7 separate regions of the Homo sapiens genome follow, and all the other regions are linked to region 1. The links are contacts of gene promoters, found by promoter capture Hi-C in blood cells and fetal thymus (Javierre and others, 2016). All regions are on one chromosome and are shown on one strand. Each heading gives the region's core, a stretch centred on a gene start or on the middle of the fragment in contact. The rest is flanking DNA. Distances are from core to core; before and after follow the strand shown. Region 1 holds the start of TMEM106B (transmembrane protein 106B). Region 2 overlaps THSD7A (thrombospondin type 1 domain containing 7A). Region 3 overlaps THSD7A (thrombospondin type 1 domain containing 7A). Region 4 overlaps THSD7A (thrombospondin type 1 domain containing 7A). Region 5 has its middle 380 kb from the start of ARL4A. Region 6 overlaps THSD7A (thrombospondin type 1 domain containing 7A). Region 7 overlaps THSD7A (thrombospondin type 1 domain containing 7A).

Region 1 (3,451 bases), core at 543-3,042:
AGGAACTGTGCTATATGGCCAGCACGTTTTAAGTTAAATGATGAGGTTGAGAAAATACTAAATACTCCCTTAAGAATTAAAGAAAAAAGTAACTTTTTCACTTAAGAATAATATATATTACATTATAGAACCATTTGCCTATTTAACAATAATAAAGAAAAAACATCCATGCTCTCAAACTACAGGCAACTGTTTATATTTTGTATATTTCTTTCCATTTCAAGGCAGATATGTAATATATTTATATCTATATGTTATCTATATGTGAATATAGTTTACATCCTATTACAATACCTCATATCCTATACTTTGCATCCTGATTTTAATTTTATATCACTCCGCGTATAACAGCCTTATAAGATGGTTTTTACTGGCTTTATAAAAACTCAATAGATGGCTATTCCATAATTTTAAAAACTCAGTAATTCCAAGGGGAACATCATATCTCCACAGGTGGACTGTCAATAATTTTGAGAAAAATTTTCCCCCATGATTCTGATTTGTTTTAACCAACCTATTAATTTTGAAATTTCAAACAGTGTTAATGGAAGACACCCTGACCCTTCCCTTTGGAAAATATGGGCTAAATAAAAGCGGTTGAAAAATAATGATTTTATCAATGTCCCTTGTTGGACATTCAGTTTATTTAAATGGATACACCTCATACCCAAATCTTTTTAGAGTTCTCATTAGGTTTAGGATACTTCTGAAAGGGTGGAATTGCTGGACCAAACGATGTGAACATTTTAATAGTCTTGATACATACTGACTGTCTGCCAGAAAACTTAGGAGTTTTAAATCTCCGACAACATTGTATGAGAAAGCTCATTATCTCACATATGGATCTACAGTAATCCTCTTAAATTGTATATCGTTCTGACTTGTATTTCCTACTTTTACATAGCTTCATTTCCCAATTCCTGTTAGAATTCCCTGATTCTAACAGGATCACACTGATCCTGTTAGAAGAGAGAAATATATGACTCTCACTTCCTTGCTCCTGTGACTGTAAGAATGCCTACCATTCATTAAACGTTAAACTCTCCGCAGGAATGAGACTAGAGTGCCCTTAATATTATTACCGGCATCTCATTGATCCCTCAAAACGACTCCTTGTCGTTGTTCTTATCTTCTAAGTGAAATGACCTAGACGTTGGGGGAGGGCAGCCCCAACCCACAGCGAAGAGCTTAAGTACTGGGATCCGAGACGGGATTTCACACACCTGTAACTAGCACCAGAGTTAAGGGGTGGGGAGGGGCAGCGTGGGCAAAGCGAAACGAAACCGAGCAAAAACAAAAACTACGGCCTTGCCGCTTGCTGTCTCCTTCTAGTTGGCCAGTTTCTAAATTAAAATAGAGGTAGCTTTGCTGCTGTCAGCGGCGTGTGTACGGACCAGTTTATTCCATTCCTAAGGACCAGACTGTCAGCGACAACTCGCATTGCGTGAGCGAGGAGGCTGCTCAGCTGAAAGCTGAGGCAGATGGTGCACATTTATACCCTTTGCAAAAGGAAATGGTCTGATATGGGAAATAGGAGGAGCGACTGTTCCTAGGTAATTCGTGGCTACAGTGGACACTTTGAAGTCTGGGGGACGCGAAGGTAATGAAACCTGAAGAGCGCACAATCTCACACGATCGACGCCTCTGGGCTCAAACAGGAGGAAGAAGGACGCATGCGTCACGCGCACGCCAGGGGTGTCCCTCCGGGAGCGCTCTGCGCAGGCGCGGACGCAGGTTACAGCAGCGCTTGGCCTCTGCTGATGCCGTCGTTATCCTACCCCTCCCCCGTCCCAGCTCTACGGCGGCCGCGCGCTCCAGGCCGGTCGCTCCACCCCCCGGCTCCCGGGACTGTGGACTCCACGACCCTGTCCTCGGCCCTGTCCGCGCCGAAGCAGCCCGGGACTGCGCAGCGCCCCGCGTGCCGGTGAGCGACCCCGGACGTGCAGTCCCCAGGTCCCCTTCCGGAGCGAGGCTGAGCGGCTGCGCCGCGGCTTGAGCCGGGCCTGACAAGGAGGGGAGGCCGCTGGGGTGCTGGGCCAGCCGCAGGTACGGCGGCGGTCAGGGCTGGTGATCGAGTTGCTGTGTCGCCTCTAATGAGGCCCAGCCAGGGAACACTCGGCTTCGGCCCAAGCCCTACCTCTGGGTTGCCTCTAGGCCCTCACACCTTGAGCGCCAGGTGGCCCTCTTCCTTTTGCTGTTGATGAATGTTCTTGCCGTGGTGCCGGGATCTTATTTTGCAGCTTTACAGAGTAGGCTTTGTGCTAGGTGTTGTTTATGGAGCTTTTCAAAGGCGCTTGTTTCCTTAGTTCTCAAGCCCTTTTAGAACTAAAACCAGTGTCTACACAGAAGATCAGGAGCCATTTAAATTGGAGTGCTGTGATATATTTTTTCTCTCCAAACTGAGTCTGATATCCATGTTGACTTTCAGTAAACTAAGGAACCGCTATAATAAATAACACTGAGCCCACAGAGGTTGCAGAAGAGGGTCTAGCACCCCTTTTTTAAACCATTGAGTCTCCCAAGAATAAAAGTGGTTACACTTGTCAGTTCTCTAAGGAAAATCTAGTAGAGAAGGCAAGGGATTCCCAGTTTCTCACAGAGTCTGGCACTTGTCCAAACACCTACCCTAAAGCAGAATCGATCATGGCAGCTATTAGATTAGGACAGAAAACAGGCTCAAACGGAGAGCCACTTGAGTCTGCCTTTCTGTGTCTTTTTTCTCAACGCGCTCCAGTTAAGATGCAGCTTACAGCCTGGCTGTGTTGACTGAGATCCCAGAAAGAGTGCCCTTAAGGCCTTGCTGATAAGGCCCAATGATCCCAATTCATCTAGTGTTCCGCATAGACCCCAAGGTTACAGTGTGTGGGGACAGTGATGTTAAGTCTTCCCTATCCTACCTGTGGCTGACAGGTGTTGATTAAGACAATGATTTTTTAGAAGTCATAAATCATTTGTATTTTTGATGTGGGCAGTGATTTTTATAAATACATAGTTTTTTTTTTTTGAAAGAGTGAAAATCTCATTTTACATTTGTTTGCATACCATTTGTATAGTTTTTTAAATTCTGTTTATTTGAGTGACAGCAACAAGTGGATGGCATGCGAATTTTATTTATTTTTTTATCTTTGTATTTATTTTGTGTATATTCATGGAGTACAAGTGCCATTTGCTACATTGATACACAACATCCTGGTGAAGTCAGAGCCCTTAGTGCATCCAGCACTGGAGCAACACACATTGTACCCACCAAGCAGGCTCCTATCAGGCATGCCAGTTCTAGAAAGTAAAATTTTCTTCATACTCTAGGATGAACTGACTTACTTGGAATGTCTGTTTTGTTTAATCAAATAAGTGAGAATTTTTGAAAGAAATACTATCTGTCTGAATGTATGTAATCTATTTTTAGGAACCGCTAAAAGACATATCAAATTTAGAAGGAGTATAATTATGT
Region 2 (3,448 bases), core at 576-3,075, 730 kb before region 1:
TATCCTCTCATACAACCCATGTGCCCCCTGTCCTTCACCCTGCTCACTGGCTCTGAAAATGCATGCCAGGCCACCTCTTTTCCCACTTTGGTTGCTCCTCACCCAGTTGGGCTCTGACAACCCACTCTAGATCACCAACAGACCTCCTATCTGCTGGCACAGATGCCCAGCTGCTTGGCTTTACCAAATGGCTTTTTGGATAGAATTGTTCAGGAAAGGAGAAAAAGAGCCTAGCAATAAAAGGAAGTGAAAGAAAGGAAAAGGAAAAGCAAAAGGAAAAGCAAAAGGAAAAGAAAGAAAAGAAGTGCAGTATGAGGAAGAGAAAGTGCCATTCTATCATTCTGTCATTCATTTAAGAGGAACAAAAATAATTAATCCTAACATTTTCACAATGTTAGGAGCCCTGTTTTATCTACTGGATTGGGGCCATCGATAGATAGATACATACATACATATATACACACTGATACACAATAAGAACACTGAGTAAATCAGGGGTAAGAGTACTAGTCAATACTCCTCTCATTTTAGCACACAATAGGATTATATTTCCCTCATTCGCCTTGAAGTTAGGCATAGTTATACAACTTACATTAACAATGAAACGTGAGAAATGACATAAATCACTCTTAGATGGGAGAATTTACTTGCTGATGCTTAAAATCGACAGATAGATTCTCCAAGTATTTTCTTCCTCTGGCACATGAAGATTGTGGAACCAGGTCTTCATATGGTGATGCAATATTGTGACATTTCATGAAGGACAAATTGCCCTGTAGAGTTACCCAAAACTGTAGCTAAATTTCCATGAGGAAGAAGTAAATAAAGCTTTGTTCTTTAAGCTCCTGAATGTCTGGGCTGTCCATTACTGAAGCACAACCTAGTCTATCCTTATTAATTACAAGGAGTTATCCAGCCTTCAGTATTGTTTAATGGTGGCATTCTGATTAAGATAAGTGAAAGTATAGGTTGGAGCATTTATTTCATAAATCCAGATCTACTTTTCGCATGGACTTGTCCTGTATGTTATTTCCCTAGAAAATCATATAATTTCTTGTTTAAACACTTCATATATCATTTCTCAAATGTGGCACTTTCCTTTAAAGTTATCACAATCAGTGTCTGATCCACAGAAATTTAAGAACATTTATGACACAAAGCACTAATTCTTGAAGAATAATGGAAAGACTGACTTTTGTGTAGAATTACAAAGGATTATCTAAGTGGCAGAGAAACACATTTTAAAACTTCCTGCAGATGCTGTTCCTAAATCATTAAAAATAGTTCAGAATTAGGAAAGATTTATTTTGAGTAAGAGAAAATGTGTTTCAGTGTCCAACAAATAATAGGTACTAAGTAGGCTTTGAAGTACAAATTTCTCATAAAACATGTTTCAGTGTCCACTAATAGGTACTAAATAGGCTTTGAAGTATAAATTTCACATAATTATACCAGCTTTTATAAATGTTATTAACAGAGGTAAATAGCAGCAGAGACAAATAGCATTGACAGAGTTTCTTTTATGGCTTCCATGTTTTACAATAATGTATTATATATTTCAAAATAGCTGGAAGAGAGGATTCTCTATGCCCTTGCTAAAAGAAATGATAAATGTCTGAGGTGATAGATATGCTAATTATCTTGATTTGATTATTACACAATTTATCCATATATTGATACATCACACTGCACCCTATATATACAATTATTACACGTCAATTAAAACAGAACTATATTGTTTTGAATTAATGCCCTTATGATTTACTATATAAACATCTATAACTTTCCAGCATGACTTGCTTATAATGCAACCACTAAACTTAATTAAAAATTATTGAAGCCCTACCCTTTCAAACTCAGTGGATGATACATATCAAAGAGCAATCACAAATTTCTGCCTTTAAAACATTTCATGACCTTTCCGTGTGAAGCATCATGTCTACAGGAATAATGATCTGGTGAGTTCTGCAAGCATGGCAAAATCCTTGCCATGTGACTCGGGGTGGGGTGAAAAGTCATTCATTAGTAGTCACACAGCAAGTGTCTGCAGAGTATAATGAATTTACAGGAAGCAGGGTGACCACAGATCTAATTTTAATGAAGCCCAAGGCAAAATCTGAGCTGATAGAGTTTAAAGCCTTCATACAATCTTCACGAGGTTAGAGTCATTGTTTGACAACACAAGAAATATAATTTTCTTTGTAAAAGGTTGTATTTTTCAATAGATACACTTTTTTTTTGGAGCAAAGAGTTAAATATATATTAAGGTGGTAGGAAAAAGTTTTTGAACACTATAAAGAAAATTCTAAAATTTCACACAGGTTGGCTTTTCTGTGTGTAAAATGTTTTACGCATGTAACACTCATGTGCAAAGGCCAAGGTAATTATAGGTGTGCACAGTTGTTACACACACAGATAGCAAATTTGACTAGGAACACTATGTTTCTATCACTAAAATACTTCATGAACAGAAAAATAGAAAAAGTATAGGCAACACAAAACTCCCCCCAAATCGATAATTTGGGGAAAACATAAAATGTTATGCTTATTACAAATAGAAATAATTATTTATCAGTGCTAAATGTGAACAAAGAGTCATTTAGCTTGATAATGTTTAAATAACATACACTTATATTCTTGAGAAAGAACATGCCTTAATATGAACAAACTTGATTTACTTTTATGCTTTTCTCACTCTTGTGTTATTTTTCAGAAAGACAAGATTAAGTATGACATTATATTACCCAGTCACACAGAAGCCAAATTAGCATTTGGATATCATCTTGAGAGACAATTACCAAGAGCCTTGTATTTCTTGGCAATAAAGCTTGCAAGTGAGGTCTGAATATGTGACAAACATGCTTTATTCACCCTATAGGGTGAAGAGATTTAGGAGCAACATATTTTAAAAATGAACAAAATTTACATATGAGATTTCTGGACCTCGGAGCCTATGTTCAAGAAACTCAAAGAAACTGAAAATTGCAATTTTTGGTCGAACAGTAGCTATTCTTGTGATTTTAAATAAACTTTATGATTGGATATATATACTTATTTATGAGAAGGTAGAATATGATTTTCAAAAGATAAAACTGACTTCTGAAATTCAGAAAAAAACAATGAAACATCTGAAATTTTGGGAGCCATTTTCAGACCTTCTTAAAGGCCTAACACTTTGGTTTACAAAGAACTCTAATGACTGGAAGGGTGGGAAAAAGCAAAATGAGTTCACTTTTAAAAAGTCTTTCTCCTTTGTTAGAGATCCATTTTCAAGATTAATTTTGGGGGACAGAATCAAATTGCTCAACACATCAACAGATATTAAATCTTGGATGGCTGAATTTCTGGTTGTTGACTTTCATAGAATATCATCTTTTCCAGGCTACACAAAAAAGATGCACACTAACTTTTGAAACGAACCTAGATGGCGTCTGAAGCTGGCGACTCA
Region 3 (3,412 bases), core at 632-3,131, 780 kb before region 1:
ATATTTGTTTTAAACTTCGTATTGTAGTCTTCATATGCAAAAGTGCATTTTCCATAGACGTAAATTTCACTGAACACACCCCTGAAATCAATAGTCCAGAACTCTCCTCCGTATTCCCTTGCAGCCACTGCCCCTTCTTACAAGAGCAACAACTATCCTGACTACTCACTGTGTAGAATAGTTTTACTTTTTAAAAATTTCATGTAAATCGAATCATATAGTTTATATCCATTTGTGCTAGCCTTTTCACTCTACATTGTGATATGCGTTTTATCTACGTTGGTGCATATTGCTGAATATTGTTTATTCTGGTTGATGTGTAGCATTCTATTGTGTGAATATACTATGACTTGTTTATTCATTCTATTGGTGGTGGGCATTTAGGTAGTTTTCAATATGGGGCCATTATTAACAGTGCTGCTATGAATATTCTAGAATGTGTCTTTTGATGGACATATGTATGTATTTCTGTTTGGTGTACTCCTAGGAGACAAATGGATAAATTGGATGGTATGTATATTATATTATCCATTGTAAATGAAGTATAAAATAAATTTTAAAAAATGGGATCACAAATTTGGCATGAAGATTAGGATACAATGAAAAGTTCTGAAAGTGGGCATTAGTCCCAGATAATCTTCTGGAGGGCAGATGTGGCAGAGTTGGGATTTTGTTTGTTGTGAGACATAGAAGACAGAAAGAAGATGCCACTGCTAAGTTTCTAATGTACTTCTCATATATTCAAGATGACTTTTGGAGTATCGATAATGATCCAGAGGAAAGTCCAACAAAGAACTAAAGGAATATTTCACAGTAGTGTTACTGAAATTTTAAAATAGATTGCAGTGATCTACTTAAATCTTACATTTTGACTTTAATTATGCTTTGGGGTGGAGAAATAAGCCCCTTCATGATTCTGAGTTGAAATATACTTCAAATGCCTTTTTTCCTACAGCTGAGGCAGTAAATTAATTGACCTAAAATAGTATGAGATGCCCAAAAAATAACTCTTCTTATTTTAGGGCCAGTAATCACTTATTTTCTTTAAATAAGTTATAGTTTAATAAATACAATCAAACTTTAAAAGTATCTAAAGTCATTTCCAAATCAATGGCATTATGACCAAATCATTTAATAATATTTGTAAGACTACAATGAATTAAGAACCATCCAAATCATTTCCAAATATTATCAATGGCTTTGGCAAAAGAGCACTAGTATTTCAAAGGTAATAAGTTATTTCAAAGGAAATATTTTTATAAGAATTGCATTTTCCCACCTTGATAAACTGCAAAATGTCTCTCAAAAGTAAACCTCTAGGCTTTTTTAGCTCAGTAATTATAACTGAAAATAGAATCACCTGGTGGCCTTACATGTCACTACCCCACAGAGTAACAGATAAATGGAAAATTGTTTTTGATTGAAATATTATGGTTTTAGTAAGATTTAACATGTATGACTTCAGACTGATTCACGTTGTGTTATTAAGGAAGGAGATACAAAACTTTTATGTCCGATTTTCCAATAGCATATTCCAGAAAACATCTCTCAAATAAAATGCAGCCTATTAAACTGTTAAAAGATAGATGCAAATTAGAAACTGAGATAAAGATAAAACTGCAAAAGCGTATATTGCCTAGCATATCAATTTTATTTTCCAATGTCTGACAACATTCACTAATTGCCTGTCATGTTTATCTAGCACCATTAAAATCCTTAATGCTACTAGTGAACTGCTAGAAAAGCATTCCCCTGCCTTCTCTGCTCAGATCATTTTTTAGGGCAATTAACACCAAACAATCATGGGGGATGGAAAGAAAGAAAAACATTTAGAATGTTTTAAGGCTAAATAAACTGCTGGCATCTTATAGCAATGTATGGTTTCTGAGGATGCTAGGATAAAATAAATGACTTCACAATTAGGATATTAAAACTTTCAGCAGTTCAACACAGAATTTGACGCTTGGAAAAATTAAACTCCAGACTTCTGATTATATTTTTGACTGCTGCTTTCAGGTTGAAATAAATACAAAAGACTAGCAGGCTTAAAGTGGCAACTGGAGGACATATTGCCTTTGAGATACACACAATCACTCATTCATTTGAATTATGAATGTGGAGATAAAGTAGATTTCAACAACTTTCACAATTACTAAATTGTGCTGCTGAAAGGAATACTGTTGATGGATCAAAGAATTCATTTTGAAAGCACATAGAAAATACTGGTTGCTTCTGATTTATAGCTGTGTGAATGAGTAACTCTGGCATTCTCTCTGAAACATCTGGATTAATTTCAAAAGCAACCTCAAAAAATCTCTTCTACTTAATTGTGTATTATATTCACTTGATTGCAACTGGGAATGAGAAAATGTAGCTAGACTTTTATCTATTGTGGTCCTCACAGGCTGGAAAAAGTTGAAAAAAAAAATCATTTTGCAAAAACTTTCCAAACGGACAATATTCTTGAGCAATTATATATTAAAAACTGGTGATCTGATACCTGGGGCAACCAAATTACTATGTATATATATCCAAACTCCTATATTCCAATGTTCTACCCGTTGTATATTTGATGGATGAAAAGTTATAAATCAATATTAGGCAATTAATTATCATAGTAAAGTACCCAGGCAAATTTATAGAAGTATAATACAATATTATTTTAATTATATTTATTCATTTTATATACATTTGAAAGCATATGTATTCATATCTGCTAAGTATTTATAAATTTTCACAGAAAATTTCAATATCAGTATGAATGGCTGTGAGGTTTTGTTATTGTTATTTTAATACTGGGAATTTACTCAATGACCACGCTTTTTCAGATTCATTGAGTGATATCTATGTACAAGTTCATTACCAAGGGCGTTTCTTACAGCAAACTCTAAAGGCTTCTCTTGTATAATAAAGAATTTGCCTGGCCCTTGGCCAGGTAGGTCTCTCGGCCCTGAAATTTCACTAGTGATAGAACTATCTATGTTATTCATGGTGGGCTCCTCAGACTACTTATGATTTTATGCTGTAAGGATATCTCAGGAAGGGGCTGGTCACACCGGAGAGACCAATCATCTGATTAGAGAGTTGGAGCTTTGAGCTACATGTTATCTGACCACCTTTAAGACGAGAGAGATTGCATTTAACCACATGGCCAATGATTCTTCAGTCATGCCTATATAATGAAACCTGAATAAAAACTCTGGATACCAAAGCTCAGGTGAGCTTTCTGTTTGGAAATGCACATCAGTGTGCTAAGAGAAAGATGCCTCCTGCCTCCACTAAAGAGATTATGGATGCCTCATGTTTCAGATGCCCCCTCACCTCAGCTACCTGTCCTTTCGAGCTGGTTCTGATTTGTATCCTTTTGCTATTATAAAACTGCAGTGGTAAATATATTGCTTTTCCAAGTTCT
Region 4 (3,979 bases), core at 419-2,918, 710 kb before region 1:
ATGAGATGAAATACACAGAATCGAAATAACAGGGGATTTGGAGAGTTAAGATTTTTAGACAAGTTAAGTTACTGGGAAGTCAATGGAAAGAATACTAATAGAGACCCAAATGGGAGAATCTTGTCAGCTAGTCTTCTGGTATCATGAATTTTTAAAGTGATATATTCTACAGAATCAGAAGTATGCAGAAATGCTATGCTTATATGTGACTATAATGTTCCTGAATTCTAATCTGAAAGTCATGAACATAAAATTATAACATGGAACTAATAATTGCTGACTTTTATTGTGCAATGTTATGTGCCAGGCATTAAGTGTTTTACAGGATTTAGCGGATATAATTTTCCAACAACTCTATGAAGTAGACATGATTATTATACCCATATTACAGAGAAATAAAACCATGGAAGTTGATTAATGTCCCCAACTTTATACTATGCTGTCCCCTCTTAGTGTGAGAGACTAGCTTAATTTATTTGTCTTCTCTTGTGATTTTTCAATAATACACTATTGTATGTGGCAAGAAAATATGCGAGAGGTGATCCAGTTTAAGGATTAGGAAATGAGGCCCATAGTATGGAAAACACTTGCCCAAGGTTACACAAGTTGATGATGGAGTTGGAGATTCAGTGACCATATGACCTGGGGTTTAGGGCTGAGACATCCGTAATTTTTTTCATGTATGAGGCCAAATTATCGTTACAGAGATGATAGATATTCCTCCACAGCATTGTGCTCAACTATCTAATGCACTAAGGAACACAAATAAATTACACTTCTTCCAAGGGCCAGGAGCCTGTGGCTACGTAAGCTGCTTACACTAATTTTTAGAAGCAGGAGATATTATCTCACTTCTACAAGTAAGGAAACTATACAGATGAAATATAAAAGTGGCAAATTTCACTCAAACATGCAAAACATACAATGAAATGTTCTTGAAACAAAATAAACAAATGAAAACATTTAGCCAACCAAGGGTAGAACCAAAGTCAACAATCATTGAATCTAGGTAAATAAAGACACTGAGGCTAAAAAGTTGTGAGACTTTATTAGAGCAGACAATATAGATGTCATGAGTCCAGAAATTAAGCTATCCAACGTAAATCAATGTATTAGTCCATTGTCACATTACTATAAGGAGATACCCGAGATGGGGTAATTTATAAAGGAAAGAGGTTTAATTCACTTACAGTTCAGAATGGCTGGGGAGGCCTAAGGAAACTTACAATCATGGTGGAAGGGGAAGCAAACACATCCTTCTTCACATGGTGGCAGGAAGCAGAAGAATGAGAGCTGAGTAAAGGGGGAAGACCTTATAAAACCATCAGATCATATGAGAACTTACTCACTATAATGAGAATAGGATGAGGGAAACTGCCCCCATGATTCAATTACCTCTCAGCAGGTCCCTTTCACAATGTGTGGGGATTATGGGAACTACAATTTAAAATGAGATTTGGTTGAGGACACAGCCAAAACATATCAATCAATAAGATAATAGACATATGTTTGTTGAGATAGGCCAGATATTTTGGTGCATCTGTCAAATATAAAACTAATGGTATTGATAAAAATGTACCTCATTGCATTTCTTTAGGGGACATTAGGAATAAGGTAACTCCTGAGAAAGTAGTTCAAACAAAGCCAATTACCAATCCAATGTTGTTTCAAAGATATGGAAAACACTGGTCATTTTTTTGGTAAATACATTTTTTGGAGTATAATGTACTCTCAATAATCTTTAATACATAATAGAACTTTCCACTTGGAAAATGTTTATCTTAAGAATAACTGTTGACTAGTAGCCAAGATAGCCGACTAGAAGCAGCTAGTATGCTAAGAGCTGTGGCTCTCAGGGAGAGGAACAGAAGGGCAAGTAAATATAACACCTTGCACTGAAACTTCCAGGTACTTGCATTGGGATTAATCAAGGAAACAACCTGACTCACAGAGAGGGAAGAAAAACAAGACAAGACAATGGCTCACCTGGGAGCAACATGGAGCCAGGGGACCATCCCCTGCCCAGGGAAGTGATGAGTGAATAAGCGATCCCGGGAAACCATGCTTCCCCCACAGATCTTTGCAACCCTTGGGTTAGGAGATCTCTTTGAGAACCCACTCCACCTTCAGTCTTCAGTCCAATATAGCTATGTGGAGTCTTGGCAGAGCAGCCGCTCAGGCATGTGTGAAGACCCTGGAGCCTTAGATACTTGGGCCTTCTGGCAAAAGTAGCTGCAGCTCCATCAAAGTGGGAGCTTAGACTCCTGTACATACCCCTAGATAAGAGGCTGAAGCCATGGGGCTGATCCATAACAGCCCACAGACCCCACTTTCATGGCACCTCATATGATAAGACCCACTGGCTTGGAATCCCTAAGAAGGAGCTCTCAGAGAGAGGGGCGGGCTGCCATCTTTGCTGTTTGGGTGCCTTGGCCATTCTAGCCTTTAGGCTTTGGAGATGTGAAAGGGATCCACCAGCACAGTATAGCTGTGCTACCAAAATGTGGCCAGACTGCTGCTTTAAACAGGAGCTCAATCCTCTTCCTCCTCACTGGGTGGAACCTCCCAACTGGGACCTCCAGCCTCTCCTGCTTGAGCTCTCCAGTTGACAGAGATCTGAATTCCCCCTGGGACTGCACTCCCAGAGGGAAGGGTGGGCCACCATCTTTGCTGTTGGTGACTTAGCTGTTCCAGCCTTTGGCTATCTGAAGTGACCGGGGGCTGAAGTGGACTGGACCCCCAGCACAGCACAGCTGCTTTATCAAAACATGCCCAGACTGCTTTTTAAAGCAGGTCCTCATCCTATTCCTCCTCACTGGACAGGACCTCCCAACTAGGGTCTCCAGCCACTTCATGCAGATGCCTTTGGGTGGCAAAAATGTCCCTACTTCCCTGGGACAAAGCTCCTAGAGGGAGAGAGAGGATGCCATCTTTGCTGTTTCACAGTCTTCACTGGTGATACCTCCAGGTTCCAGAAAATCCGAGGTGACTAGGGACTGAAGCAGGCCCCAAGCATACAGCAGCAGCCCTATGGAAAAGTGGCCAGACTGTTACATGGGTTCCCGTTCTCATATCTCCTCACTGGGCAGGTCCTCCAAGCCTGGATCTTCAGCCACCTTGCACTGGAGTTATCAAGCCAGTACCAACTCAGCAACTCCTTTGACAGAGCCTCCAGGGGCAAATGAAAGCCTCTCTGCCACTGCCTCTGTAGTGGAACAGCCCTTGCCATCCTCAGACTAATGAAGGAGCAAAGACCCTAAGGGCCTTATCCACACCTCCAACAAGCTGCAGTTGACCCAAGGAGAGGCGGTCAGTCCAACTCCTGTGGGATCCACACACCCTTCATGGCTTGTCACCAGACAGGGAACTCCTGGCTTGGGCCCTCAGCACAAACCTTCCATCTTGGGCTGACTACACTGGGCATGACCTGCTGACTGCACTGAGTTGACATGCATCTCTCTGACTCTCAGGAGTCAAGCAAATGACTTGACCACAACCACTAATAAGATGTCTTCCTCTGTTGCCCCTAAGCTGAAGAAGAAATATAAACACCAAGATTTCCCTAGAGCTTCAGTGGGCAGCCTAGGAGTGCCAAGTTGTTCTTAACCAGACTCAACTGGCTGAAATGACAGAAATAGAATTCATAATACGGATAGGAACAAAGATACTGAGATTCAGGAGGATGGCAAACCCCAATCCAAGGAAAATGAGAATCACAGTAAAGCAATACAGGAGCTGAAGGACAGCATAGCCAGTACAAAAAAGAATCTAATGGGTCAGACAGAGCTGAATAACACAAGAATGTCACAATGCAATCACAAGTATTAACAGCAGAATAAAACAAGCTGAGAAAAGAATCTCAGAACTTGAAGACTGGTTCTGTGAAATAAGACAGTCAGACAAAAATAAAGAACAACTATTAAAAAGGGATAATCAAAACATCTGCGAAGTATGGGATTATGTGAAGAGGCCAAATCTA
Region 5 (3,903 bases), core at 1,150-3,649, 850 kb after region 1:
TTATTTTCTATTATAAAATGAATAAGCACAATGCAGATAATTCAATGAATAAATATATATTCATTGAGAAAAAACACTGAATAGTTTTTGTTTTCTAAATCACTTCTTGAATCTACCAATTTTCTGAATGCTCTGTCAGTGGTTATTATTTGACCTTTTTCTTCCAAGCATCTAATAAACTATTCTTTGTATGTTGTGCCTTGTATTAGTGAGAATCTATTGCTTATATAGAACAGAAACACTCTCAGCAATCTCCAGAGTTAATGATTTATTATAAGGGTGCAAATGCTAAAGCGGTAATAAAGATGAGTCAGGCCTTGAGATCCAAAGAATAAGGCATTGTGAGAGAGCAGGAACCAAGGTATCAAAATGGGAAATTGAAGTTAGGTAGAGATGTTGGCATCAAGAGGTTGTAAATCTTTACTCTTAACACTCTGTTGTTAATGAGCTCCAGCTACCCTTCTCATCTCTGTTGCCCCAGACACCGTAGAGCGCGTAGCTCATTTTTCCTAAGAAGTGGATGCCTTATCTTCTGTCCCAAATAGCTTGCCTTGTAAGTTATAACTTATGCGTATTCATGACTTCAGTTGCTTCAGGACTCATCAAAGCTCTCGTCCGAAGGCCTTGCTCTGTGTATCTGAATAACTTCAGCTCCCACTGCTTATATCCTTCCACTTCAAAGTCAGTGCTGAAAGAGAGAATGCAATTGATCTGTCCTCTTATCACTGCACTTTACTGTAAGGTGGGCTAAACCACCTCAGAGGCTTCATACAGTCAACTCTCATTGTGGAGGATGGGAAAACAATTGTAAATTACACGATAGAGTTGCTTTAAACTTCTTTCTTTACAAAGTTCTGATGTGCAGCTGTTTCTCTTGGAAAAAGCTTGTTTCTGCAGTAACGTGATGATGATTCCAGCCTCTTCTCAACTTAGTTCATTTGGGCAACCCCCCCACCGCCCCTGTACACTTTGTTGAAACTACTCTTGCCAGGGTTATCAATGATCTCAATTTTGCCAGATAAAATTATCATGTTTTGGCTGGGCGCGGTCGCTCACACCTGTAATCCCAGCACTTTGGGAGGCCGAGGAGGGTGGATCACGAGGTCAGGAGTTCGAAACCATCCTGGCCAACGTGGTGAAACCCCATCTCTACTAAAATACGAAAAATTAGCTGGGTGTGGTGGCACTGCCTGTAATCCCAGCTACTCAGGAGGCTGAGGCAGGAGAATCGCTTGAATCTGGAAGGCGGAGGTTGCAGTGACCCGAGATCGTTTCATTGCACTCCAGCCTGGGCGATAGGGCAAGACTCCGTCTCAAAAAAACAAAACGAAACAAAACAAAAATTACCATGTTTCATCATTCTTCATCTTATTTGTTCTTTCTGTAACAGATTAATTGACCATTTTATTCTTGTTGAATTTTTTTCTCCTTTTCAGAACTCTGCACTACCTTGGTTTTCCTCCTATCTACTAAGTAGTTTAGCTCAGTCTCCCCTGCTAGATTCTCCTTCTCTGCTGACCCTGGAATTCTAGGACCCTAGGCTTAGTCTGAAATCTTCTGCTCTTCTCGACCTATATTCTTTCTTGAAAAAAGTCTTTTCCAATTCTCTAAACATCACCTATATTTAAAGACTTACAGATGTATATCTCTAGTTCTAAATCTTTCCTCAGTGACAAACTCCTACTTGACATAGTCACTTGAATTCCAGTAGGCTGGCTCACATTAAATATGATCAAAACTGTATTCTTGATACTATGACCAAACCTGTTCTTACTTGCTTCTCTATTCCTCCCAGATGCTCAAGCTCAAAAGAAGCAAAGAAAAAAAAGAACACTTAAACAGGCAAAAAAATTAAAAAATTATTCTCATCTCTCATATGAAATCAATCAACAAGTACTATCAGCTGTGTCTCCAAAATAATTGTCTTTCTTTCACCCTTCACTGCTGCCCCTTAGCCCAAACAACTATCATTATCCACCTTACTTTCTTCAATGGATTTTTTTAACGAATCACTCCTTTTTTTCCCCATAATCTATGCTCTGCAGCCAGAGTAATAATTTAAAATGTGATTAAAACCATGTCACTCCCTGAATAAAAATCCTCCAATGGCTTCCACCTCCACTTAGTGAGAAAAGGAAAGTACACAAACTCCAGCATATTCTAAAAGGCCTTACATTATTTGTCTTTTGCCTCTATCTCTTGCACCTCATATCTATCTTACCATACTTTTCCTTCCTTCACTTTCCTTTTCTGCTTTTCAGTTGTAGCAAGCTTATTCTTCCTCCAAAGACCCTTTAACTTTCAAATCTGTTAGATCACCCATCATGTCTTCAAACGCTTGGCTCTTTTTTCCATCCAGGTTCAGCTCGGGTGTTAATCTCCTGTGAGAATTTCTCAGCACATCCAAATAAAGTTACTTACCCTAGAACTATTACTTATTTTTGGTTTTATTGACTTCATATTATTTATTGTGTTTGTGTTAATTTATTGGTTTACTTATTTATTGTCTGTCTCTCCTACTGGAACGTAAGCTTCACAATAGAAAAAGGCTAATCCTTCATTATCATTTTATTCTTCATTTTCATTGTCTAGAGCACCACTTAGTATATGATAACAATTTAATGAGTATTAGTTGAATGAATAATGAATCATTTGCTGCATATTGAAAACACAATGAGCATTTGAGTATCAACTAATAGTTGATACATAACTATATTTGATTATCAACTATTTGAGTATAAACTGTGCTTTAGGTGCTAAACATATGTTATCATTAATTATTAATTATTCATCTATTCAATACATATTTATTAATTACCTAAATAAATGTCTACCAAGAGGAAAAACTATCATCTGTACTCATAGGTGACTTGTTCTCTAATGAATACACTAGTAGGCCAACAATCAAACATAATGATGCAATTGACATGATGGAATAAGTTAAAAACTGGCATAAACATAAATACATGATAGCATAGACTCATACATTTGTCTGCCTGTGGTCGGTAGCAGAGATACCAAATAGACATTTTTACTTCACATTGACAGCCATAGAAATTAGTAGGCAACCCATCTTGGAAAGGACATTCCTTTTAGGTAGAGAAGGCAACTGAAAGTGCTTTGGATGTATGACTGTAAAGTGCAGTTAGTGAATTATCAGTACATTTTGGAATATTAAAAGAGGAAACAGTGTAAGTAGATAATTCTGGAAGAGTAGGCAGAAACCAGCTTATAAAATGTTTGAGAATCTAATCTAAGGAGTTAAAATATTCCCAGGTAGGCATTTCTATAATTCAGTATTTCCCAAGCCTTTTTAAAAAACAATCCTGGCTGGGTGCGGTGGCTCACGCCTGTAATCCCAGCACTTGGGGAGGCCGAGGCAGGCAGATCACGTGGTCAGGAGATCAAGACCGTCCTGGCTAACACGGTGAAACCCCGTCTCTACTGAAAACACAAACAAAAAATTAGCCGGGCGTGGTGGCGGGTGCCTGTAGTCCCAATTACTCAGGAGGCTGAGGCAGGAGAATGGTGTGAACCCGGGAGGCAGAGTTTACAGTGAGCTGAGATCGCGCCACTGCACTCCAGCCTGGGCGACGGAGCGAGACTCTGTCTCAGAAAAAAAAAAAAAAAAAAAAAAAAAATCCTAACCATTGTTTTTTTTGAATCTGGAAAATTATCCTGAAATTATTTTTGTCATATAGCTTAAGAAAAAAAAAAGTGAGCAACAATTAGTTTATTTTGAAAAATTCCATGAAAGCTTTTGATATTTTGATGACAATATTGGTGAAATTAGCTCTTTAAATTTGTAAGAAACAGCTTTGAACCACAAACTACACAAGTTTCTACATGGTTAACATCCTAATTCTTTAATGTTTGGTAATATCTGTGCTGAGGAAATGCTGA
Region 6 (3,982 bases), core at 348-2,847, 750 kb before region 1:
CAAAAACCCAATCAATTCATATTTAAAAATAGAGAAAATGTGAAGAATGGAGAAAACAGTTCTGTAGGCAGTTAGCCTTCCTAAGGTGCAGTCACAAAGTAATTGCTCTTTTGTATAATTCTTTCCCTTGAGGAATATGACAGATCTAATTAATTTATTTTCCTCTACCTTAAATTCATTGTCATGCTATTTTGCCTAGCCCTGTTTATCACATGGGACTCATACACATGTAATGAATCTTCTTTAGGAGAATATATTCAGTGCTATAATGTGAAATTTTATTTCTTTGTTATTCATTTAATTTGAAATGCATAACTTGTAAATTATTCCGGTCATTTATTATTCATGTTAGACAGTCTAAGACCTTCAATTCAGGTCACATTCTAAACATTAGGGATCTAAGTAGTAAAATGAAAGTGGTTTCTTAGAGGCAGACACAGACTTTTTAGAGAAGCAGTCAAAATAGCAATAATTACTATAAATAAGTAACTCTAAAGTATGTTAAAAATGGAAAAAATTAAGATACACTTTCAATAAAGACATCAACTTGACAGTATGACTGATGTAAGGATTCAAAAATCTTTTAGTATACAGATCATGTAGCGTATAAAACTTGCCAACTTTAATAAAATATATTTCAATTAAGATTACGTACACTTTAACGATGAATAGCTGCATGGCACAGGGTTTTACTTACAAAATAATTCTCTAAAGAATTATGTTAATAGAATCCTCCTGATGCATTTTCATTATTTTGCAAGATCTTCAAATATTTCATACATAGACTACAGGAACAGAAATATTTTAAAGGATTAGCAGCTCCTAACAATTAATGTTTAATCAGAAATCAAATGAAACCTTTTTAAAAGATACTGTGGTGGTGGAGAAAGTATGATTTGATGATTAGAACATTGCCATAATGGAATATCCTTTCTCATTCAGTCAAAGATATTCTTCAACACGGTCTGGGCAACTGACTCACTGCCATGTTTAGAGAGGATTTCTGTATTGGATGGGAGAATGGATCAGTAAATGGCTGACTTCATAGGAGAATCTCTTTAACAACAACAACAACAAATTTCTGGGCCTATACCCAGGACTACTAAATCAGAATCTGGAAGCTGGGTTTGGGAATAGGATATTTAAAAATCTTGCCAGGTATTTGGGATGAAGGGCCTGGTTTGAAATCTACTGTAATACACGACCTTGTATGACCTATCCCAATGTAAGATTCTGGGCTTACATGTAACTTTTTAGAATTATTATTCCCGTTGTGGGGTGTCGTCTGTACTATTAATGATGGCATAACTATTTTAATGAATAAGCGGGATACTACAGGTAATGGAGTAGGGAATTGGGGGCTAGAAGTATTGGGCAGCAGAGAATTAAAGTATTTGAAAATATTGTCATGGACTTTTAATTGTAGCAGTAGTTTGAATGCCAGCTGCAACTTTTACATGTTAAATATAATTTATCTAGGGAAGATCTAAGAAATGTCAACAGGACTTTTAATAAATTGCTAATGCAGTCTCCATCTATTATATTGTCAAAATGACCTGTATTTTAAGGCCCAGGTGATAAATTCCTTTAATAATTCAGAGCTAGGGAAAATTCTGTCTCCCTTGACAATCTGTAAAGAATCCATTGTACTTCTATTTTTTGCTTTGGTCACCAGAATCTCAGAGCTAATTTTCTTCTCAGTTGAAGGAGCTTGCCACAGCTTTGATTTTCTAGCATAATTTTTCTCTCCCTCTTCCTTCTACCCCCTTCCTATTCACTACCTGGATTTGCCCTTCTTTTACAATTTCTATTTTTTTCTTTTGTTTTATGTGTATGAACTGTCCATAATCTTTTTTTTTTAAAGTATACAAACTAATTAGACTCACATTTGTTTAACATTGGGGGAAGCAGGGAGGTTTCTGTTTTGTTTTTTAATGGGGAGGTAAGACGTAAAGGGCTCAAATGGGTTTTTGTTTCCCAGTTGGTCAAAATTCTTAGAGGCAATTACTCTCCAATCTGCAGATAGAGGACAGACACAGGATTAAGACCAGGGGATTTGGGGGCTGGTGGAGACAATGAGTTCAGCATTAGTGGCACCTCATAGACTAAAGCTCCTACTTATTAACTACCTAGATGGCACCTGGTGCATAGCCAGGGCTGTTCTACTTGAGGAAGCAGCTACCAAACATTAATGTTTCAATTCTATTTTGTTTGTTGATTTGAAAGAAAAAATGTCACTTAGAATACATTTCTGAAACATTCTCCTAATGCCTTCTCATCACAAACTCCACAAATTAGTACTAGATATATAAGACTATGATGACTCTCTTCACGTCCTTAATGGATTCCAGAGTGGCAATCCATTTATTCTTATGAAAAGTTCAAATTCCTTAACCTGGTACAGCCTACAGGATAGAGATTGTGACCTGATTCAAGTGGAACTCTTCAAAGATATGACACCCAGAGAAGACGTTTAATGGGGTTACACAGGAAGTGTCAATGACATCTATGTTTTTACCCATTGGCAGGTCTGTTTCTTCTCATATTGCAGTTAAGAAATTGCTTGTGTACTCAAAGTTACAGCGCTGTAGAGCTTTGCCAGGTTATACAGTCCTCAGATCAGAGAGCAGAAAAAAAGGAAGCTATACAGCACACATTAAAAACAAAAAATGAAAGTTTCATCATTAATAACTTGAGCTGGCAAACTGGGAATTTTATACCTTTCATCATCCCCTGCTTGTATTTATGCTCATTTTATTATATGCGGTTGATATATTTGTAGTGTTTCTATTCATCTGTGTGTTTTATACCTAAGACAAGAGTCACATATAGTAAGTGCTTAATAAATATTTGCTGAACGCACAAACACATTTATTTCACATCTTCTCAACTGGATTATTAGTTAGCACCTTCTATTTCTTTCCACTTATTCCTTTATAGTGGTAAGCGCACAGGTACCAATGCTGTGCATTAAGGATTAATAAAAATAAGCTATCACTTTGTTTTCATTGGAAATAACAAGTACGCGAAAAATAAGGGCACCTGCCTGTGACGTTTGTGCTTAAAAATGCCTATCCAGGATAGGAATGGAAAAAACAGATCGTACATCTAGCAAATAATCATGTGATGATGGGGTACACAGATTCAGAAGATATGTAATCTCTCACACAGTTATAGCATTTTTTCAGATATCTTAAGACATTCAAAATAAATTTCACCGAGAAATTACTTGATGAAAAGGATTTAAAAGGCAGGCAAAACTGATTCATTAAACTGGATATGGGATGGATTGCAGGTTGAAGCAGTACAGTAATAGGAAATTGAAAGGGAAATGTCTCATCCAAGAAGCAAAATGTAAAGGTAGTATTCAGATCTTTGGTGGTAATTCTAGTGCTCTAGTGATTTAGGACATGAGGAAGAAGCCTCTGCAATATTCCTTCTATTTCTCAACACAATAAATGCAGTGAGAAAAAAAAGGAGCAAACAGAATTTGAGCAACCAAATATATTATTTGATCAAAAGTATTGATTTTTTAAAATTAGAGGTACAAATAATTTATGTGCATAAGGTATTTCTATTTTTTAAAATGCCCTCTGTCAAAATTTACAAAAATTTGAAAAACACGTTAGCAAGTGCACTGGTCTCAGGATTAAACTACACTCCACTTAATACTGATCTTTATCAGCATTGATTTTTCAAGGGGTATTTTAGAAGAAGGCTGAATAACATTTCAAACAACTCTTTTAGTTCTTCCTGGAATCCTACTATTCTGTTTTATTTTGTGCAATAGTATTGTGTATTTGACTTCCTTAAAGTGATTTTAAAAAGAAGGATAGTCCTGCACTTTAATAAGCCCAACATCTTTGTAAAATTTAGACTTTACTCGCAGAATTAAGTAAAAAGAACCACCCCAACTTTGAATTAATTTTCTGTTGCTATTACCTCTCTTTGAACATTCAACTTTGCTTAGCATTTTTAAATG
Region 7 (3,417 bases), core at 156-2,655, 800 kb before region 1:
AGATTTTCTTTCCTAGAGTATGCACCTTGATGGTATTAAATGAGTTTTAGGGGAAAAATGCAACTTATAATAAATCTGTTTTTCTGAAAATACTCATCAATTTTTACCTGCACCTTTTATAGCATTGATTTATAATCTTTGGCAAGTTTAAGATTGCTGACTAATCATGTTTATAAACTGCCCACACCTCATGAATTGTTGCCCCAGTATGTTTTAGCAATTAAGCATCTTCTGAAAAAGAAAGACATTTTTGAATAAATCTGATACCTGTGCCAAAAATATTTTAGATTCACCTTCCCGAAGTGAGAGGTTGTCTTATGTAGGAACACTTAGTATATTCACAACCTACTTTAAGGGCTAATGTCTGTTGACATTTTTATTTCCTCTATCTTAGTGTTTACTAAAAAAAAAACCCAGATAAGTATTTCTGTCATTTAATATGTAATTATTTCTGGGAAAGTAAGCAGCATATCCAAAAGGCACACAGGTAGAGATGAACTATACTGACAGGAATGCTTCAGAGCTGACAGACACAGGATTTGGACTTAACTCCGTGATCAGATGATGATCCATGTACCTGTTACATTATAATCATAGTGGTAGCAGTTTTTGTTCAGGTTACAGGGTTCTTTCTCAACAGCATTAGGGCAAGATCTTCCTTCATCAGCTGGTTGTCTGATGGGATCAGCTGACCTTTGCCGGAAACTGCTTTGATTGCAAGGCTTAAAAAGAACAGTACAAATTCTCAGAAAGGTGAATACTCAGCTACACAACTGGTATATTAGAGACAGCACTGGAGCAGGAGTTAGAACATTTGGGCCACTGGCTAACTCAGAAAAGTCAGTCAACCTCATTATGCCTCAGTTGTTCAATGTATAAAATGAAGGTGTTGAATGAGATTTTGATGTACCATCTAGCTATAAGATGCCATGTGTCAAATGTTAATACACACATCACCTCACACCTATACACAGCCACACATATGGTGGTCATATTAATTATTATGCTATTATATATATAAAGTTATATGTGTATTATTATATATATAATTATATGTTTGTGGATTACGTATAGTCTTTTGGGCCTTAAAAGACATTTTAAGAATAACTTTAAATGACTAGGTGTTAGTGACTTTCCTTTTCCTGATGCACACATATACATGCATATAAACAATTCTAATTCTAAATCCTAATTTTAATTCTTAATTTAGAATTGAGAAAAAAAAATAAAGTTCTAAGACCTGCAACTGACCAAATGGACCCCCTCTTGGCCATAGGGACCACAGAGAAACCTTGAAAACTGAGTTCTCGGCCTTTAGGCGTTCTTCCGTAAGGGTTATACAGAAACAAGCCCTTTGGAAAAACTCACTCTGCACCTGATCAACCAATTGTCTTGAAACTGCCTTTGCAAAAATTATAACAGTAAGAAAATTATGGCAGTAAAAGAGATCTGATCTAACCCACCTTCATCTCGCTTTTCTCTTAGTTATTCCTGGGTTTTCGGGGTGAGCTAACTTCAAGAAACATTTACTTTATAGTTTAAATAACAGGCTTTTCCCCAAACCCAAGTGCCTTTGTAAAGCTAATGAAAGGCCATCAGGCTGGGAGAGGAGAGGAACCTGAATTCTGCTAAGGTGTAGACATAAATGATTGCTAGCTACTCCTGCAGATGACACCACTATAGTAGATTGGCCTTTGAGATATCTTTTCCATTTTTTTGCATGTCTAACACCCAGGGCTCTACCTGGACCTGCCAACCCAGTTCCTGTGCGCCCCTCAGAAGAATTCAGCCTGCAGGAGGACAGCTTTGACCCCTGTGATTTCATCTCTGCCCCAACCAATCAGCAGCAAGCACCCATTCCCTGGCAGTCCCACCCCTTCCCCCAAACTGCCTTTGAAAAACCCCTACCTAGGAGCCTTAGACAATATTGATTTGAGTACTAACTCCATCTTCCATGTGGCATGGCTGGCCTTATGTCTATTAAACTCTTTCTTTACTGCAATACCCTGGTCTTTATTTGTGCAGCAGGCAGGAAGAACCCCATGGGTGGTTACAGCCTGACACTGCCTCTCCCTTTTATGGTTGCAACAAAACAACCAACCAGCATTTCTTCCTAATAAGAAACCACTGACCAAGGAGTGGTTCTGGGTAGTCCATGGAGGATGTACAGTAAGGGTTTCTGTGACCTCTGTTTCACCTTTTGACATTAGAGCACTGAAAATCCCACCCTTGGATCATGCTAATGCCACCATTTTTGGTACGTGGGACACGAGGGGGCATAAAGCTCAATTGCACATGCATACTCTTTGTTTTTTATAAATATTCATGACTCCTCATATAGCTTATTAAATATGTATATTTGGCCACCCTGCTCAACACAAATTAGTTACTGTTCCCTTTCCATTCCCTAGAAGTGTCTATTTCTGGCTTCTGGCTGGCAGCTATGATTCCCAGCCTGTCAGGATGGCCACCCTGCAGGCTGCAACCCTTTATGAGATGTAAAGCTCTCCTTTCTAAATTTATGAACCTTGTCATTCTTCAGTTGACAACATCTAAAAAGACTGGCTTGCCATTCATCTACTGGTACAGTCTTCTGAAAACAGTTGGTTTCTAAGAACAGTAAGAAACCAGGAACAAGCCTCCATGGACTTTTTAAGGCCTAAAATAATTGCTTCCTCCTCCCCTGCTTCCGTTGCACTTTGGTCACACTGGAATAACACTATCTGTTTTGACATAATGTGTATTATATAAAGGTCTTGTTCGTTTCTGCAGTGCACTAGGAGAGGACTTATGTTTTAGATAGCTGTATATTCTCCCTACCTAACACCGTTACTGATAGACAGTAAAAGCTTAGTTGGTATCTGTTTAATGAAGGCCTGAGTGAAGAAACAATGTGAGTTAAAGGTAAAACATGTCAAATTAAATTTAGGCTAACGCTGCCTCCTTACATTCAAGTTCATCCTAAAGGTTTCTTCACACACAGTGAACTATACCCTCTTTGGATGTGTAAAAAGACTGTAACCTACTCTTGTGCAATCACTGAGTTTCAAATGTGGCCAATTGTTCAAATCATGTTCAAATATGACAAATGTAAAGGAAAGTTTTTAAAAAAATCTCAGGATCTCATACTCCCTATGCAAAAGGGAAGCGTAAGCTTGGAGGCCGTCTTGCAACATTCTCTTCCAAATGAATAGCTATTGCTAGCATTGTGCCAGATTCCCAAGGAAAGATAAACGGCCTCGGGCATCATGAATAACTTGCTCCCATAGAAGATTCATAGGTAAATTCTTTCATGGCCTCCCACAAACAAGGACATACCAATTATACCAATTGTAACTTTAGGTCTACAGCCTAAGTCTAACTCCCAAAACTAAAGTCTGATTCCACACTGATGCTATCAATCACAAGCTTATTTTC

Evidence for each region. Contacts are between HindIII fragments. The CHiCAGO score rates a contact against its expected background, and 5 or more counts as called.
Region 2: a fragment that was not itself captured here is called in contact with the fragment with the promoter of TMEM106B in region 1 in 3 of 17 cell types (M2 macrophages, M1 macrophages and monocytes); the score reaches 6.8 in M2 macrophages.
Region 3: a fragment that was not itself captured here is called in contact with the fragment with the promoter of TMEM106B in region 1 in 3 of 17 cell types (M1 macrophages, M0 macrophages and M2 macrophages); the score reaches 12.0 in M1 macrophages.
Region 4: a contact is called between a fragment that was not itself captured here and the fragment with the promoter of TMEM106B in region 1, in 1 of 17 cell types (monocytes). The highest score is 5.4, in monocytes.
Region 5: a fragment that was not itself captured here is called in contact with the fragment with the promoter of TMEM106B in region 1 in 1 of 17 cell types (total B cells); the score reaches 5.6 in total B cells.
Region 6: a fragment that was not itself captured here is called in contact with the fragment with the promoter of TMEM106B in region 1 in 1 of 17 cell types (monocytes); the score reaches 5.1 in monocytes.
Region 7: a fragment that was not itself captured here is called in contact with the fragment with the promoter of TMEM106B in region 1 in 1 of 17 cell types (M0 macrophages); the score reaches 5.5 in M0 macrophages.

The regions. Positions count from the first base shown.
Region 1 is chr7:12,209,502-12,212,952 of GRCh38, forward strand. TMEM106B (transmembrane protein 106B) reads left to right here and starts at 1,793. Exons shown (of 8, transcript NM_001134232.2): 1 at 1,793-1,924. RefSeq lists enhancers at 1,192-1,341, 1,475-1,993, 1,552-1,601, 1,994-2,510 and a silencer at 1,782-2,091. The HindIII fragment of the contact is 6,470 bases long and covers 1-3,451 here.
Region 2 is chr7:11,478,339-11,481,786 of GRCh38, forward strand. All of the region lies in intron 7 of THSD7A (thrombospondin type 1 domain containing 7A), which reads right to left. Among named protein-coding and RNA genes, the nearest start is that of THSD7A, 350 kb to the right of the region's middle. The HindIII fragment of the contact is 1,999 bases long and covers 827-2,825 here.
Region 3 is chr7:11,432,346-11,435,757 of GRCh38, forward strand. All of the region lies in intron 13 of THSD7A (thrombospondin type 1 domain containing 7A), which reads right to left. Among named protein-coding and RNA genes, the nearest start is that of THSD7A, 400 kb to the right of the region's middle. The HindIII fragment of the contact is 4,062 bases long and covers 1-3,412 here.
Region 4 is chr7:11,495,858-11,499,836 of GRCh38, forward strand. The region is part of intron 6 of THSD7A (thrombospondin type 1 domain containing 7A); the gene reads right to left. Among named protein-coding and RNA genes, the nearest start is that of THSD7A, 330 kb to the right of the region's middle. RefSeq lists enhancers at 2,222-2,722, 2,723-3,223. The HindIII fragment of the contact is 5,403 bases long and covers 1-3,979 here.
Region 5 is chr7:13,062,474-13,066,376 of GRCh38, forward strand. No RefSeq gene overlaps it. Among named protein-coding and RNA genes, the nearest start is that of ARL4A, 380 kb to the left of the region's middle. RefSeq lists a silencer at 398-598. The HindIII fragment of the contact is 260 bases long and covers 2,270-2,529 here.
Region 6 is chr7:11,462,313-11,466,294 of GRCh38, forward strand. All of the region lies in intron 9 of THSD7A (thrombospondin type 1 domain containing 7A), which reads right to left. Among named protein-coding and RNA genes, the nearest start is that of THSD7A, 370 kb to the right of the region's middle. The HindIII fragment of the contact is 6,994 bases long and covers 1-3,982 here.
Region 7 is chr7:11,412,079-11,415,495 of GRCh38, forward strand. It overlaps THSD7A (thrombospondin type 1 domain containing 7A), which reads right to left. Exons shown (of 28, transcript NM_015204.3): 18 at 578-722. Among named protein-coding and RNA genes, the nearest start is that of THSD7A, 420 kb to the right of the region's middle. The HindIII fragment of the contact is 2,884 bases long and covers 1-2,847 here.